3 separate regions of the Homo sapiens genome follow, and all the other regions are linked to region 2. Evidence: promoter capture Hi-C in 16 types of primary human blood cells and fetal thymus (Javierre and others, 2016). All regions are on one chromosome and are shown on one strand. Each heading gives the region's core, a stretch centred on a gene start or on the middle of the fragment in contact. The rest is flanking DNA. Distances are from core to core; before and after follow the strand shown. Region 1 holds the start of GPD1L (glycerol-3-phosphate dehydrogenase 1 like). Region 2 holds the start of SLC4A7 (solute carrier family 4 member 7). Region 3 holds the start of STT3B (STT3 oligosaccharyltransferase complex catalytic subunit B).

What was found. The method cuts DNA at HindIII sites, captures the fragments that hold promoters and counts their contacts. A CHiCAGO score of 5 or more calls a contact.
Region 1: the fragment with the promoter of GPD1L here is called in contact with the fragment with the promoter of SLC4A7 in region 2 in 1 of 17 cell types (non-activated CD4 T cells); the score reaches 6.0 in non-activated CD4 T cells.
Region 3: a contact is called between the fragment with the promoter of STT3B here and the fragment with the promoter of SLC4A7 in region 2, in 1 of 17 cell types (fetal thymus). The highest score is 9.1, in fetal thymus.

Annotation. Positions count from the first base shown.
Region 1 is chr3:32,104,877-32,109,306 of GRCh38, forward strand. It overlaps GPD1L (glycerol-3-phosphate dehydrogenase 1 like), which reads left to right and starts at 1,744. Exons shown (of 8, transcript NM_015141.4): 1 at 1,744-1,882. The coding sequence starts at 1,836. RefSeq lists silencers at 1,477-1,886, 2,007-2,146. The HindIII fragment of the contact is 2,757 bases long and covers 1-2,497 here.
Region 2 is chr3:27,481,549-27,485,978 of GRCh38, forward strand. It overlaps SLC4A7 (solute carrier family 4 member 7), which reads right to left and starts at 2,836. Exons shown (of 26, transcript NM_001321103.2): 1 at 2,519-2,836. The coding sequence starts at 2,578. RefSeq lists enhancers at 1,575-1,634, 1,795-2,004, 2,035-2,094, 2,110-2,886, 3,365-3,494 and silencers at 2,265-2,334, 2,365-2,724, 2,755-3,234. The HindIII fragment of the contact is 9,889 bases long and covers 1-3,155 here.
Region 3 is chr3:31,531,164-31,535,966 of GRCh38, forward strand. It overlaps STT3B (STT3 oligosaccharyltransferase complex catalytic subunit B), which reads left to right and starts at 1,762. Exons shown (of 16, transcript NM_178862.3): 1 at 1,762-2,149. The coding sequence starts at 1,836. RefSeq lists silencers at 1,085-1,344, 1,655-1,884, 1,915-2,044, 2,125-2,274 and enhancers at 1,445-1,584, 2,435-2,494, 3,934-4,435, 4,436-4,803. The HindIII fragment of the contact is 5,534 bases long and covers 1-4,803 here.

The DNA of each region.
Region 1 (4,430 bases), core at 494-2,993, 4.6 Mb after region 2:
TCTTGTCGCCCAGGCAAGATCTCGGCTCACTGCAACCTCCGCCTCCCAGGTTCAAGAGATTCTCCTGTCTCAGCCTCCTGAGTAGCTGGGATTACAGGCATCTGCCACCATGCCTGGCTAATTTTTTGTATTTTCAGTAGAGACGGGGTTTTGCCAAGTTGGGCAGACTAGTCTCCATCTCCTGACCTCAGGTGAACTGCCTGCCTCGACCTCCTGAAGTGCTGGGGTTATAGGCGTGAGCCACGGCACCCGGCCTAGGCTTAGTTTTTTGTAGGTACTAGAGTATTTGTTTCTTTAGCCAGAATCCACTGATATTTTAGTCTTCTGGTTCTCAATCTTGGCTTGCTTTTGCAACTACCTCTTGAACTTTAAAAAATTCTGCTCCAGCCTGGGCAACAGAAGGAGACTGTCTCAAAAAATATATGTCAATAAGTAAATATCCTGATGCCTGGATCCCACCATGGGACATTCTGATGTAACTGGCCTGCAATGGTGTCTGGGCATGGGGATTTTTAAAAGCCCCAGTGACTAATATGCAGCAGAGTTTGAGAACCACTGGTTTAAAGGACTTTGTCCTACTCTGACAGCGTCTAGCACAGTGCCTGGCAGAGACTGATGCTCAGAATGAACAAACTAAGATTCTATTTGTCAAGGAGGAGAGCATTGTGTTACTCACAAATGCAAACAAACCACAAGCAAGGGATAAGTCAGGCCCTGGGCAAAGACAATGGTAAAGCAATTCCTGCCAAGTAAGCGTGTGAGGGTGACACCCACTGAATGCAAGCTGTTGTTACCTTTTTCCCTTTATTTTTATGTATTTATTTTTTGTTGAGACAGGGTCTCACTGTCCTTCAGTCTGGAGTGCAGTGGCCCTATCCTGGCTCACTGAAGCCTCGACCTCCTGGGCACATGCAATTCTCCCGCCTCAGCCTCCTGAGTAGCTAGGACTATAGGTGCGTGCCACCATGCTTGGCTAATTTTTTAAATTTTTGTACAGAGGGGTGGGGGGTCCTAATTATGTTGCTCAGGCTGGTCTCGAACTCCTGGGCTCAAGTGATCTTCCTGACTCGGCCTCCAAAAGTGCTGGGATTACAGGTGTGAGCCACTGCACCAGGTCAAGTTTCTATCTTGACTCTAACTAGAAAAGGTGTCATCCTTGAAATGCAGGTACTGTTCAGCCAAATTCCAAAGTCCTCTGAAGATCCAAGTTCTCTAAGAAGTTCAGAGGTGCCAGGCTGTGTCTTGTTTGTGCAAATGAAACAGAGGATGACAAGGTCGGGTGGGCATTTCGAGCTCTGCCCCAAGTCTGGTCGGCTTGAGAGTCAACCTAGGAGCCTCTCTCGGCTCCAAATGGCAATGTGGCAGCCCTTCCCGAGTAGGGAAAAAGGAGCGTGTAGGGGGCACCACGGCAAGCTGGTTGGGTCTGCTCCACCCATGAGGATGGAGTGCAGCCTCCACCGGGAACCAGGGGCGCGAGTCGCTGCTCAGTGGCCTGGGCCTGCATGTGGCGCGGCGGGAGCTGCTGCCTAGGGCCGCGCAGCGACGGGGGGTGAGGACTACATGTCCCGACGTGCCTCGGGCAGGGCGGGGCGGTGCCGGAGCCGGGCCTGGAGGCCGGCCGGGGCCAGGCGTGCGCAGTGGTTCTTGGGAGTGGCGAAGCGGGTCCTGCCCCGCTGTCAGCTGCGGCCCCCGGCGCCGGGCGGGGGTGGCCGCGACCATTGGCGGAGAGGCGAAAGGGGCGGGGCCGCCGCCAGCCGCTGCGGGCAAGGCTGAACAGGCGGAGGTGGGCAGCCGGCCAGGGAAGCACGGTCCAGGCGGCTACATTCGGCCCGGCCATGGCAGCGGCGCCCCTGAAAGTGTGCATCGTGGGCTCGGGGAACTGGTGAGCGGCGGCGGGCTGGAGGCCGGGGCTCCGCTTCCAGGAAGCGCCTCTCCCGGGCGGTGAGGGCTGCGCGCCCCATGCTGCGGCGTGGGCACCGGGCACTGCGCGCAGGGAGGCGGGGTGGGCGACCTCGTTGCTGGGCTGGGCACCGTGCGCCCGAGGAGGCCGCACCGGGGCACTCGCTCGGGAGGCGCTGGGCTCGCGTGCGTGCGGGGGACAGCGCGGAGAGAGGGCACCCCGAGCACGCGGGCACCTGTCTGCGCCCCCGTTACTGAGCGCACAGAAGCCACCTGCTTGCCACGCCTGGGTGTTTTGCACAATATCCTAAGGGCGTATTCCGTTCTCCACGGCGGATCTCCTGGGTCAAGGACTTGGTGGAGGCTCGAGCATTCTTACTGCAGTTTCGGTGTTGAGGAAACCGAGGCGGAGAGGGCTAAAGGGCTCTTGCTGCCCAGGTCACGGGCGGGGCATGCTCTGCCCTTCAAGGTGCCCGTCTCGCCCCCGCTTCTGATAGGTCCACTATCTTAGGCGCGTCGTATCAGGAAGAAAATCCAAGTTTCAACAGGCCGCTCTCCCTGAGGCGTTGAGAATTCTCCCTTGCCGAGATGTTTGCGAAGCTTTGCGTCTCTTTGGGGCCTTATTTGACTTTAACATTTTATAGAGCACATTAGAAATGTCAGTTCTTCTAGTACCCTTAATCAAACGTACACTGTGGGATTCTCTGGTGTGTTTGGGTGAATGTAGAGGTGGGGGTGTGAAGGGGGAAGGAAGCAAAGTGTAGCATCTGGTGTTTCCAAGCCTTTTTTCATTGCTGTACACTCTGCCACATTGGAGGGACTGGTGTACAATAGTTAAGAGTGATGATGTCCTTTCAGTGCTTCTGTTTACCGGTTTTTCTGTGGCGTGACAGGCATCAGAAGTGCTGCAGCAGCTGGTCCTAGGTAGTTGGTCTTAGTTTTACTCTTTCAAGACTTGGCCCAGAAAGTACTTATTGAAGGAAACCTTACCTGGTTCTTCACTTTTCCATCCCAGCAAGGCCAGTGGCCTCTCTCTGTGTCCCTATTGCTGGCCTGCATCACTGCATTATAAGGAGTTATTTGATTATCTGTCTCCCAACTTTTGAGAATGGCATCTACCCTAGTGCCTGGCATATGCTAAGTCAATACTAAGACTCTGTTGCAGTGGTGCGATCTTGGCTCACTGCAACCTCCACCTCCTGGATTCAAGCGATTCTTGTGCCTCATCCACTTGAGTAGCTGGGATTACAGGTGTGAGCCACCGCTCCCTGCCTAAAAACTAATTTTTAAAACCATAATGATATTTGATTGAATAATACATTCACATTGTTTAACAACCAGGGCTGGGCGCAGTAGCTTATGCCTGTAATCCCAGCACTTTGGGAGGCTGAGGTGGGCCCAGGAGTTTGAGACTAGCCTGGGCAACACGGCAAAACCCCGCCTCTACAAAAAATAAAATATTAGTCGGGCATGGTGGCTCACGCTTGTAATCCCAGCACTTTGGGAGGCTGAGGCAGGGGGATCACGAGGTCAGGAGATTGAGACCACGGTGAAACCCCGTCTCTACTGAAAATACAAAAAATTAGCCAGGTGTGGTGGCAGGCGCCTGTAGTCCCGGCTACTTGGGATGCTAAGGCAGCAGAATCGCCTGAGCCTGGGAGGCAGAGGTTGCAGTGAGCCAAAATCAGATTGCACCATCGTACTCTAGTCTGTGTGAAGGGAGTGAAACCCTGTCTCAAAAGAACAAAACAAAACAAAAAATAAAAAACAAAAACCAAAGAGTACCAAAAACAGTGAAACATCACCCATCCACATTTATCCCCCCTGAGTACCTCCTGGAGGAAAACCAGTGTTATGAATTACTTCTGTCCTTTCTGGAGGAATTCCATGCAAGTGAATGCTTACATATAGTCCTTTCGCCCTCCACGCTGCAAATACTAGGGTATTGCATACTTTTCTGTGAGCTGCATTTTTCAACCAACAACAGAATGTTCTACACAATATTTAATAGAGTTGGTAGCTTGCTGCTGCAAAGCTTAATTTGGACTTTCAGCTTGGCTTTGCCAGTTGTTTTTTTTTATTACTATTTTTTTAGACGGAGTCTCCCTCTGTCGCCCAGGCTGGAGTGCAGTGGCGCGATCTCTGCTCACTGCAAGCTCCGCTTCCTGGGTTCATGCCATTCTCCTGCCTCAGCCTCCTGAGTAGCTGGGACTACAGGCATCCGCCACCATGCCTGGCTAATTTTTTGTATTCTTAGTAGAGACGGGGTTTCACCATGTTAGCCAGGATGGTCTCAATCTCCTGACCTCATGATCCGCCTGCCTCTTCCTCCCAAAGTGCTGGGATTACAGGCATGAACCACCGTACCCGGCCGGCTTTGCCAGTTTTAATGTCAAGCTCACTTGAGTGCAGTGTCAGCTCCCCTGTTGGCCATGCCACTTGAAAGGCACCCATTTAGCACATGTTTTTTTAACATTAGTTTTTTAGTCTGTACAATTCCACAGATGACAGCCCCTTTTCCTAATTTGCAA
Region 2 (4,430 bases), core at 1,586-4,085:
CAAAACTGGGTGAGCGAAGATTTAATTTTATCAACGCCAATAGTTCCTCTTTCCTGTTTTCAAATCAGTTCAACCTACAGCTTTACTATTCTCCCATTCTATTCGTAGACTATATGCTAGTTTACTGTATTTGATTTCTATTATTGATTTATATATGTTAACAGTAGCCAAGCCTTATCTTCTCAAAGACTTAGGAGGTTTACCCTTCTAAAGTGCTCCCCTACCACGTCATTAACAGCAGTGTTTAATAATTCCTTTGTCATCTGTCTCCCAACTCAAATATCACTTCTATTAGGATAGAGTTGGGTAGGGTGCCATGGCTTACACCTGTAATCCCAGCACTCTGTGAGGCCGAGGTGGGTGGATCACCTGAGGTCAGGAGTTCGAGACCAGCCTAACCAACAGTGAAATCCCATCTCTACTAAAAATACAAAATTAGCCGAGTATGGTGGCACATGCCTGTAATCCCAGCTACTCGGGAGGCTGAGGCCGAAGAATCACTTGAACCCAGGAGGCAGAGGTTGCAGTGAGGCGAGATCAGGCCATTGCGCTCCAGCCTGGGTGACAGAGCGAAACTCCGTCTCAAAAATAAATAAATAAATATTAGGATGGAGTTGGTTCTGCCTTGTTGGCCACTACAGTAAATAGTGTAAATAATAGTTTAAATAGCATAAACACTAGTCTAAATAAGTGTTATTACAATGAATGAATGAATAACTTGGAGGGCAATGGCCTTATCACATGCTTTCTCTACTAGCTAGGCAGGCAATATTTGAGAACACACCATAGTTTCTATCCAGCTCCGTGAAAACTCGAATGCACTTTACTGCTCAATTGAAAATTTGCAAATAAATTTAAGAACAGACAACATCATACTTGAAATACACAGAGAAAGTACTATAAAACAGTTTATTCAAAGGCTACACAAAGAATTACAGAAGGCCAGGCGCGGTGGCTCACGCCTGTAATCCTAGCACTTTGGGAGGCCGAGGCGGGTGGATTGCCTGAGGTCAGGAGTTCCAGACCAGCCTGGACAACATGGCAAAACCCCGTCTCTACTAAAAATACAAAAAATTAGCTGGGCATAGTGGTGCGTGCCTGTAATTCCTGCTACTCCGGAGGCTGAGGCGGGAGAATCGGTTGAACCTGGGAGGAGGAGGTTGCAGTGAGCCGAGATCGCACCACTGCATTCCAGCCTGGGCGACAGAGCGAGACTCTGTCTCAAAATAATAATAATAATAATTACAGATTATTTAGGATGAGTTTCCAGTATTCCATTACCATCACTGTGAATTATCTTCCAATAACCACTGCTAAATGACTTCACTGTCTGGTGACTGAGTTTTCTTCTATGTTAGAGAACTTATATGAACGTACTGAACTAATGAATGACTACTTTCCATAACCTTAACTATAATCCTAAAAGTTAAAAGGGAAAGCCGGCAGGCAGTTTTAAAGACAACTCTTGAATAAAAACATAGGAGAAGTAATTTTCCTCTTAGTTGTGAAAGACCGGACAATTTTCCCTGCAACCTTCCCGCCTTTGCTGGTTGCATAGTAAAAATTAGAAGTAGGAAAATTTAGAATACTTCCATCTCCTTTGAGTCACGAACTTGGAAAGGAGAAAGAGACAACTGCGGGGACGCATGTGCTCTAAAGAAAGCAGGAAGTCCGCTTCTTGAGCATGGGCCGTTCACCCATCATCACAAATGGGAACACCGGCCTTAAGTCCATCCCCATTCTCTTCTAACCCTGAAATCAAAGCCAGTCTCAGTAGGAAACGCGATCTTGCTAGCTGAGTTAGAGAAGGAGCACCAGACAGCTCAGGACACCCTCCTCCTTCTACTTGGCCTGCGGCAGGAGGATACTCCCCGGGTCCCAGCCAGTGGAGAAGGCGGACCCGGCAGGCAACAGCGAAAGAGCCTTGGCCGGGAAGGAGCGCGGCCAGTCCACGCGGCCGGAGAACTCACCGAACAAAGCGCACCGCGGAGCGGGAGGGGACACTCGGAAAGAGGGGGAAAGATTCAACCAGCTCTTCACCACTGCCTGGGGCTAGAGACAGGTGGAGCCGCCGTCCTCCTTAGAAGGAGAAGAAAGATAGGTTTTCGAGGGCTAATCTGAAACTCCTGCGCCAAGGCAACCGGAACCGGGACCCCGCCTGGGGAGCGCGCTAAGAAACAGGGGAGGCGAGCGCTGAGGGAAGGGATGGATGGTCGGGGTCACAGGCGGCCTCTGCGGGGATGTCGGGGTCCCGCCTGAGCCGCGCAGAGGATGCCCGCGGCGCGCCGCCGGCCGCCCCGACTCGGGCCTCCCGAGCGCAGCCGCTGGCCCCCTCCCACCCGCGCCCCAGGCCGCCACACAAAGGGGATGGCGAGGCGCGCCGGCCGCCGGGAGGTGGAGGGGCGACGGGCCTGGGACGAGGTGGCCGAGCCGCGACGCCCGCCGCGCCCCCCGCCTTTGTCTGCCTCGCCCCGCGCCCTCCCCCTGCGGAGGAGCCCCACCGCCGCGGCGCCCTCACCCTGCTCGTTACCCGGGTGAGTAGCGGTCTCATCTGCTCGCCGGCCCCATCAGCCTCCATGGCCGGCCGGCCAGCCCGTGACGGCCGCTACGGTACTGCCCCGCGCGGTCTGCCTGCTTCTGCCGCTGCCCCTGCCGCCGCCGCCGAGCCCCCGGCGCGCGAGGACAAACGTGGGTGCGTCCGTGCGCGAGGTGTGCGCGCGTGGGGAGAGCCGGGCGCCGGGCGCGGGAGACGCGGGGCGTGCGTGTGCGCGCTGCGACTGCTGGGCTGGCTTTAGTAGGAGAGCGAGGCCGCGGCGTGGAACCTGAAGCTAGAACTGAGCGAACCGGCGGACCGAGCGGGAAGGAGGAGAGCCGCGTAGGAGGAGGGGTTCGGGGGCGGAGCCGCAAACCGTGACGAGCCCGGCGCCGGGGCCAGGCAAGACACGCCCCCCCGCCCCGCCTCCTCGGGTCACGCCCCCTGCCAGTCTGGCACCGCCAGCCTCCTCAGCGCGCCCGCGGGCCGCGCCGCTAGGCCACCGGGAGATGGGGCGGGAGGGAGGCGGGACGGACATTTGTCCCAGCCAATCGGCGGCTGGCGGACTTCCGCTCGCCTCCCCCGTGCCACCTCCTCAGGACGCACCGCCCCTCTTTGTATAAGCTTAATTGACCGAAGCTGAGCGTCTAACTAGTTTTTCAAGTCGGAAGCTCCCCTGACGTTCTCAATGGGGTGGGGGGTCACCACCTCCCTTGGCTCCTAACTACATTCTTTAGAGGCTGCAGGGAAGGAGGACGCCACCTCTGTCAAGGACGCCCAGGATAACCCTCCGAAGCAACTAACGAGTCTTCACGACTCCTGGAAGTTTCTTTTCTGTCAATCCAGTAGGCACGAACCCCAACTCAGGGACCGTGAAAGATGGGGTACACTTGACCAGGTGTCCTCCTGTGCTTGCTCGCCCACTGAGCACCACGACAGCTGCCACTTTTTTTTTTTTTTTTTTTTTTTTTGAGACAGAGTCTTGCACCAGCCCAGGTTGGAGTGCAATGGCATGATCTCGGCTCACTGCAACCTCCGCTGCCTGGGTTCAAGCTATTCTCCTGCCTCAGCCTCCTGAGTAGCTGGGACTACAGACGCGCGCCACCACGCCCGGCAACTTTTTGTATTTTTAGTAGAGACGGGGTTTCACCATGTTGGTTAGGCTGGTCTCGAACTCCTGAGCTAAGGTGATCCACCAGCCTCAGCCTCCCAAAGTGCTGGGATTACAGGCATGAGCCACCACACCCGGCCAGCTGCCACATTATTGAGTCCACCCTGTAGGCCGTCTCTCAAATATCCCTTCTGTAACGGGATGATTGTAATACCTGCCATGCAGGCTCATTGAAGGATTAAGGGGATTTATATTCATAAAAGTGCCTGGCACATAGCATGCTGATAATTTTCATTATTGTTAACAGGTTTCTCTTGAGTGTTTCATAAAGATGAGAAATTTGGCCGGGCGCGGTGGCTTACGCCTGTAATTACAGCAGTTTGGGAGGCCGAGGCGGGCGGATCACCTGAGATCAGGAGTTCGAGACCAGCCTGACCAACATGACGAAACCCCGTGTCTACTAAAAATACAAAAATTAGCCAGGCATGGTGGCAGGCACCTGTAATCCCAGCTACTCAGGAGGCTGAGGCAGGAGAATCGCTTGAACCCAGGAGGCAGAGGTTGCAGTGAGCTGAGATCACGCCACTGCACTCCAGCCTGGGTGACAGAGCTAGACCCTGTCTCAAAAAAATAAAAAATAAAATAAAAAAAGATAAGGAGAGGTTTAGTTGGGAAGAACTGAAGCCATGCAATGGAAGGATATATAAATACATCAGCGGATCCAGAGCTCACATCCTATTCATCTCCAACTGGGTATTAGTAAAGCTTTTTGTCAGCAATAGGTAG
Region 3 (4,803 bases), core at 512-3,011, 4.0 Mb after region 2:
TAAGACTATTTATGGTTTTTTTAAGGAAACAAGACAAAACGTAACCACTTAGCAGGTTAAAAGGGTAGCTGGAGTTGCCTTACTTTCAAGGAGCTACCTCAAAATAACTAGGGTTCATTTATCTAATATTTTAAGACTTCTATTAATATTGAAACACAATTTGTAGTTAAAGAGAAAAATTTAAATCACCTAAGAAAATAATTCAGGGCCTTTATAGTTTTACATTAATATGCCCTTTAATATCCAGATGTTACTTACCTAATAAAATGTACAATTAGCTGTGAATTGACATGAACAAGTATTTACTGAGCACCGATTACGCCGAAAGCTCCGTACTTTCTATGGGGTTTATATAAGAGCAATTCGAGTCTCCCCACTACCTCACTTAGTTTAAGCTCATTTTGCCCTGAGTTTATCTGGTAGCACTTTATTTTAGCGGACAAGGAGGGAAGTGGGGAAAGGAAAGGAATTATAAAAATACAAGGTAGACGTGCACAAGAACCTTCGTTCTATTATTATTTAGTAAAGTGAGAACTGGAAACAGCTTAACGTCCAGGGTAAGTTAGTTTCACTCACTCGACGGAATGTATGCAGCCGTTAATGTATTTCTGCATTTTCCCATATTTCCAGTGAACATACAGTACTTTCGCAATTCGGAGTACAAACGAAAAAGGGCGAGAGAAGGTCGCATTTTGCCTGCCGGAGCTAGGGGCGCGCTTGCCGGTTCCAACGAGTTTTCGGTGTCGGAAAACTTGTCTTTGCTCACATTCTCGGATTCCCGCGGCCGCAGAAGCCGGAGGCGGGACGTGAAGGGCAATGAGCAAGGTAGGCTGTGTCACTGCCGCCGCGGGCTCACTCGCAGCGCCAGCCGAGGAGCGCCACGGGCTGCTGAACCCCTCGGCCCGACCCACGCGCCGAGGGCTAGGATAATGCGCCTGCGCGGCCGTCACGTGGTGAGGGCTCCGCGCAAAGCGGGTTAAAAGTCACGACCGCGGAGAGCCCGCGAGCGTCCTGCTGGTCGGTGCGGCGCTTTCCGCGTCCTTTAAGACGAGTTTGACCGAGGCCGCTCCGCAGTTCCCGCCCCTCGGCCCAGCTCAGCTCCATGAACCTAGCGGAGCCGCCTAGTACCCTTTCTCGCCGACCGCACAGGCGCGCGAAACCGCGTCTTTCAACTGACAATGAAGCCGTAGCCGCGCAGCTCGGCCACTCCGGGCGAATCGGCGCGAGGCCGGGATGGTGGGGGGGAGGGGGAGACGGTTGGGTCAAGCTCCGCCCCAGCTCGCGCCCCTATTGGTGGGCGCAGCGGTTCTGGGCCCGCCCCCTAACGGACCTGTCGCTTTGTGACAGGCGGAGGGGCCAGTTCCTGTCGGGCCGGAGGCGGAGTCAGAGGTTGCTTGAGCTCCGCCCGGACTCCAGGGGGCTCCTCCCCCTGCTCCTTTCGGCTGGGCGGGCGGCGGGCTAGAGAGGGAATGTCATTGCTTCTCAGAGCCGTGGTGCCGCCTCCGTCTGCTGCTTCTTTCCTGGCGCCCTCGTCCCGTCGGCTTTCGCCGCCGCCGCCGCAGCTGCACTGGGGATACGGATGGCTAGTGGGGCGCCGGGGCCATCTGGGTTGAGAGAGCGGCGATTGCGGCCGCTGCTGAGGCGGAGACTCCCCGCCGCCGCTTCCTCCACCCCCAGTCCGCCGGCCTCGCGGCGCTGAGGGCGGGAGCGCGCAGAGCTCTTCCCTCCTCCTTTTTCTTCCTCCTCCTCCTCCTCCTCCGGGTCCCCGCCCAGCACCCCTCGCACCAGGCGGCGGCGGCGGAGGAGGAGAGCTAGACCCGCCGCCGGGGCACAACATGGCGGAGCCCTCGGCCCCGGAGAGCAAGCACAAGTCGTCCCTCAACTCGTCCCCGTGGAGTGGCCTCATGGCCCTGGGAAACAGCCGGCACGGCCACCACGGGCCCGGGGCCCAGTGCGCGCACAAGGCGGCGGGCGGCGCGGCGCCGCCGAAGCCGGCCCCGGCGGGGCTGTCCGGGGGGCTGTCGCAGCCGGCTGGGTGGCAGTCGCTTCTCTCCTTCACCATCCTCTTCCTGGCCTGGCTTGCCGGCTTCAGCTCGCGCCTCTTCGCCGTCATCCGCTTCGAAAGCATCATCCACGAGTTCGACCCGTGGTAAGTGCCTCGCCGCCCCTCCCCCGCCCGTGGCCCGCGGGGAACCGGGACCCGCTCCTCCGCCCGCCGCAGCTCTCCTCGACTTGGCCCCGCGCCGCCGCGGAGCCCCGCTCGCGTCCTGGCTGAGGCCGGCGCGGATCCCGGAGCTCCGGGCGCGCCCCCTGCCCGTGGGCGAAGTTTGCCCCGTGCAGCCTGAGGCGGGGCGTCGGGGTCCAGGAGCGAAACCTTGATTCTCGGCCGGGCTAGTGTGAAGACTGCCAGGAGTGTGGATGCAGCCGCCGGGAGTGTGGGTGCAGCCGCCGGGAGTGTGGGTGCAGTCCCTCGCAGCCCGCTTTGGTCGCTGAGTCCGGACCCGCCACGCCAGGAGGCGGCAGGTAGCTCCTCCGCGGACTGTCGGTCGATTCCCCGCCCTCCTCGCCCGCTGCTTTCGCGTTCTTTCATATTTGCGGGCGCGTTTTTGCTAGTTCAGACGGAATCGGCCAGGGGGGCTGCCCTGTTGCCGCTGGAGGTGGGTCCAGATGTGCCGGAACCCCGGCTGCTCACCCTTGCAGTTTTACGCTTTTACTGTTTCTTTTTATGCTCTCATGATACGAGAAGGGAAAAGGAGAGTGAATGGCGTGTTGGAGGGAAGGAAATAATACCCCTGAAAGTGATCTGAAAGCTAGCTACTCTTATTTATTTATCATTAGGTATTTTAAAGAGTGGCTTTTTTTCAGAGCTCTTAAGTGCACTCAGCACCTTACTGTTTCACTATCGTCTTGGGTTGCTTTTTAGAACAAGATCCTTACCCTGTTAGCCACTGTCACCCTTAGTGTGTTATGCACAGTATCTGAAAGCATTGCATTAGTTCCTTTATTGGTCTGCAGGAAGGTTTGTGGATAAGAGCAAACAGTACCACGGTGATGGGAGTCCTAGATTGTAATACCGAAGTTGCACATGGTGTAAGGGACTGACCTGAATGTTTTAGGAAATTACCCCACTCTTAACAACACTAGCTAACTTAGACACTACATTGGTCTGTGAATTATCTAGATGGAAAGATTGCTTTAACTTTTTTTTCGCAACTTGCCCAACCCGAGTTAGGATTTTTCCCCCTGAGTTAGGATTTTCCCCTCTGAGAGTATGCCTTTTAAACTAGTGTTATCTTATTGACCTGTCAACCTTGAGTTAATCTTACTTCCTCACAGTTAGACCTAATTAAATTTCAGGATATTTGTTTCATCATTTGAGATTCAAAGAGAGAGAGTCTTTTTTGAGAGTTACTAACTATATAGATAATAAGTGTTCGGGTGGAGGGGGGCAGTAACTTACCTGTATAGTAATATACCAGATTTAAGTTCTGCATTATGGAGAGAAAAATTGGTACTGCAACATCTATTGAACACCAGAGGGGCCCACTCATGGACAATTCAATTTAGATCAGTTAATTACTGTGACAGTCTTCCATGAAATGTTTTCATTCCATTTTAGAAGTTTTGATTTTGTTTTCTAACACTAGTTTTTTTAAAAAATAACCTTTTTGTTAACGTGCAATCACAGAAGAAAATATGTTAGTGTAGACTATTTATGAGCCTAAGAATACCTGTGAAGGCTTATTGACACAATATTATTAGGTGGTCTTGTTTTGAAATACTTAAGCAAGTTAGATAAAAATGAAATTGGAACCAGAAAATGAAAACTAGTATTTACTGGACAATATGAAAAGAGAAAGTTCTCTTTTCAGATTAAAATAGCAGAAATGCATGGTTGACCAAACATTTCAGGTAACAAAATTGTGAATATTTCCATAGTAACATTTTTACAAATGGAAGGCTAACGACTGTTTAATAGTAACTCTGGGGCTGAAATTAAAGATTGCAGAAAAATTCACTACTGAATGATGAGATTTTGGTCATTTTTCCTTAAGATTAGAAATCTGCATCAAGTCAGCCAAAGATCCCCACTAAAATTGAGTAATGCAATAATGAAAAGGCTCAACAAGTAAAGTGGCTAATATTTTTATTTTTTATTTTTTATTTTTATTATTTTTTTTTTTTTAGTGTAGCTAAGTATTAAAAGTTTTCTTTTTCCAGCTTCAGTAGTGTGGTTGGAGGGCATAATTCTTTTTCATGCACATGAAAATATGTTTTGGTCGGGCGCGGTGGCTCACGCCTGTAATCCCAGCACTTCGGAAAGCCGAGGCAGGTGGATCACCTGAGGTCAGGAGTTCGAGACCAGCCTGGCCAACATGGTGAAACCCCCTCTCTACTAAAAATACAAAAATTAGCCGGGAGTGGTGTCGGGCGCCTGTAATCCAGCTACTTGGGAGGCTGAGGCAGGAGAATCTCTCGAACCCGGGAGGCGAAGGTTGCAGTGAGCCGAGATCGCGCCACTGCACTCCAGCCTGGGCAACAAAGAGCGAAACTCCGACTCAAAAAAGAAAATATGTTTTGCTTCATTTTTTATATATATGAAAACGCATTTCTGACACATTATCATTTAGCTAAATTTGTACCATTTGAAAGTATACATCTCTGTTTTAAAGAGCTACTTAATTTAGGTATTCTGCATATAGTTTTAATGTTGACATTTCTTAATTAAATGTTTATATTCATAATGTTAGATAATCTTGCTTAGTAGTAAGGAGATTTGTATAATAATGGACTGTCTCCTGT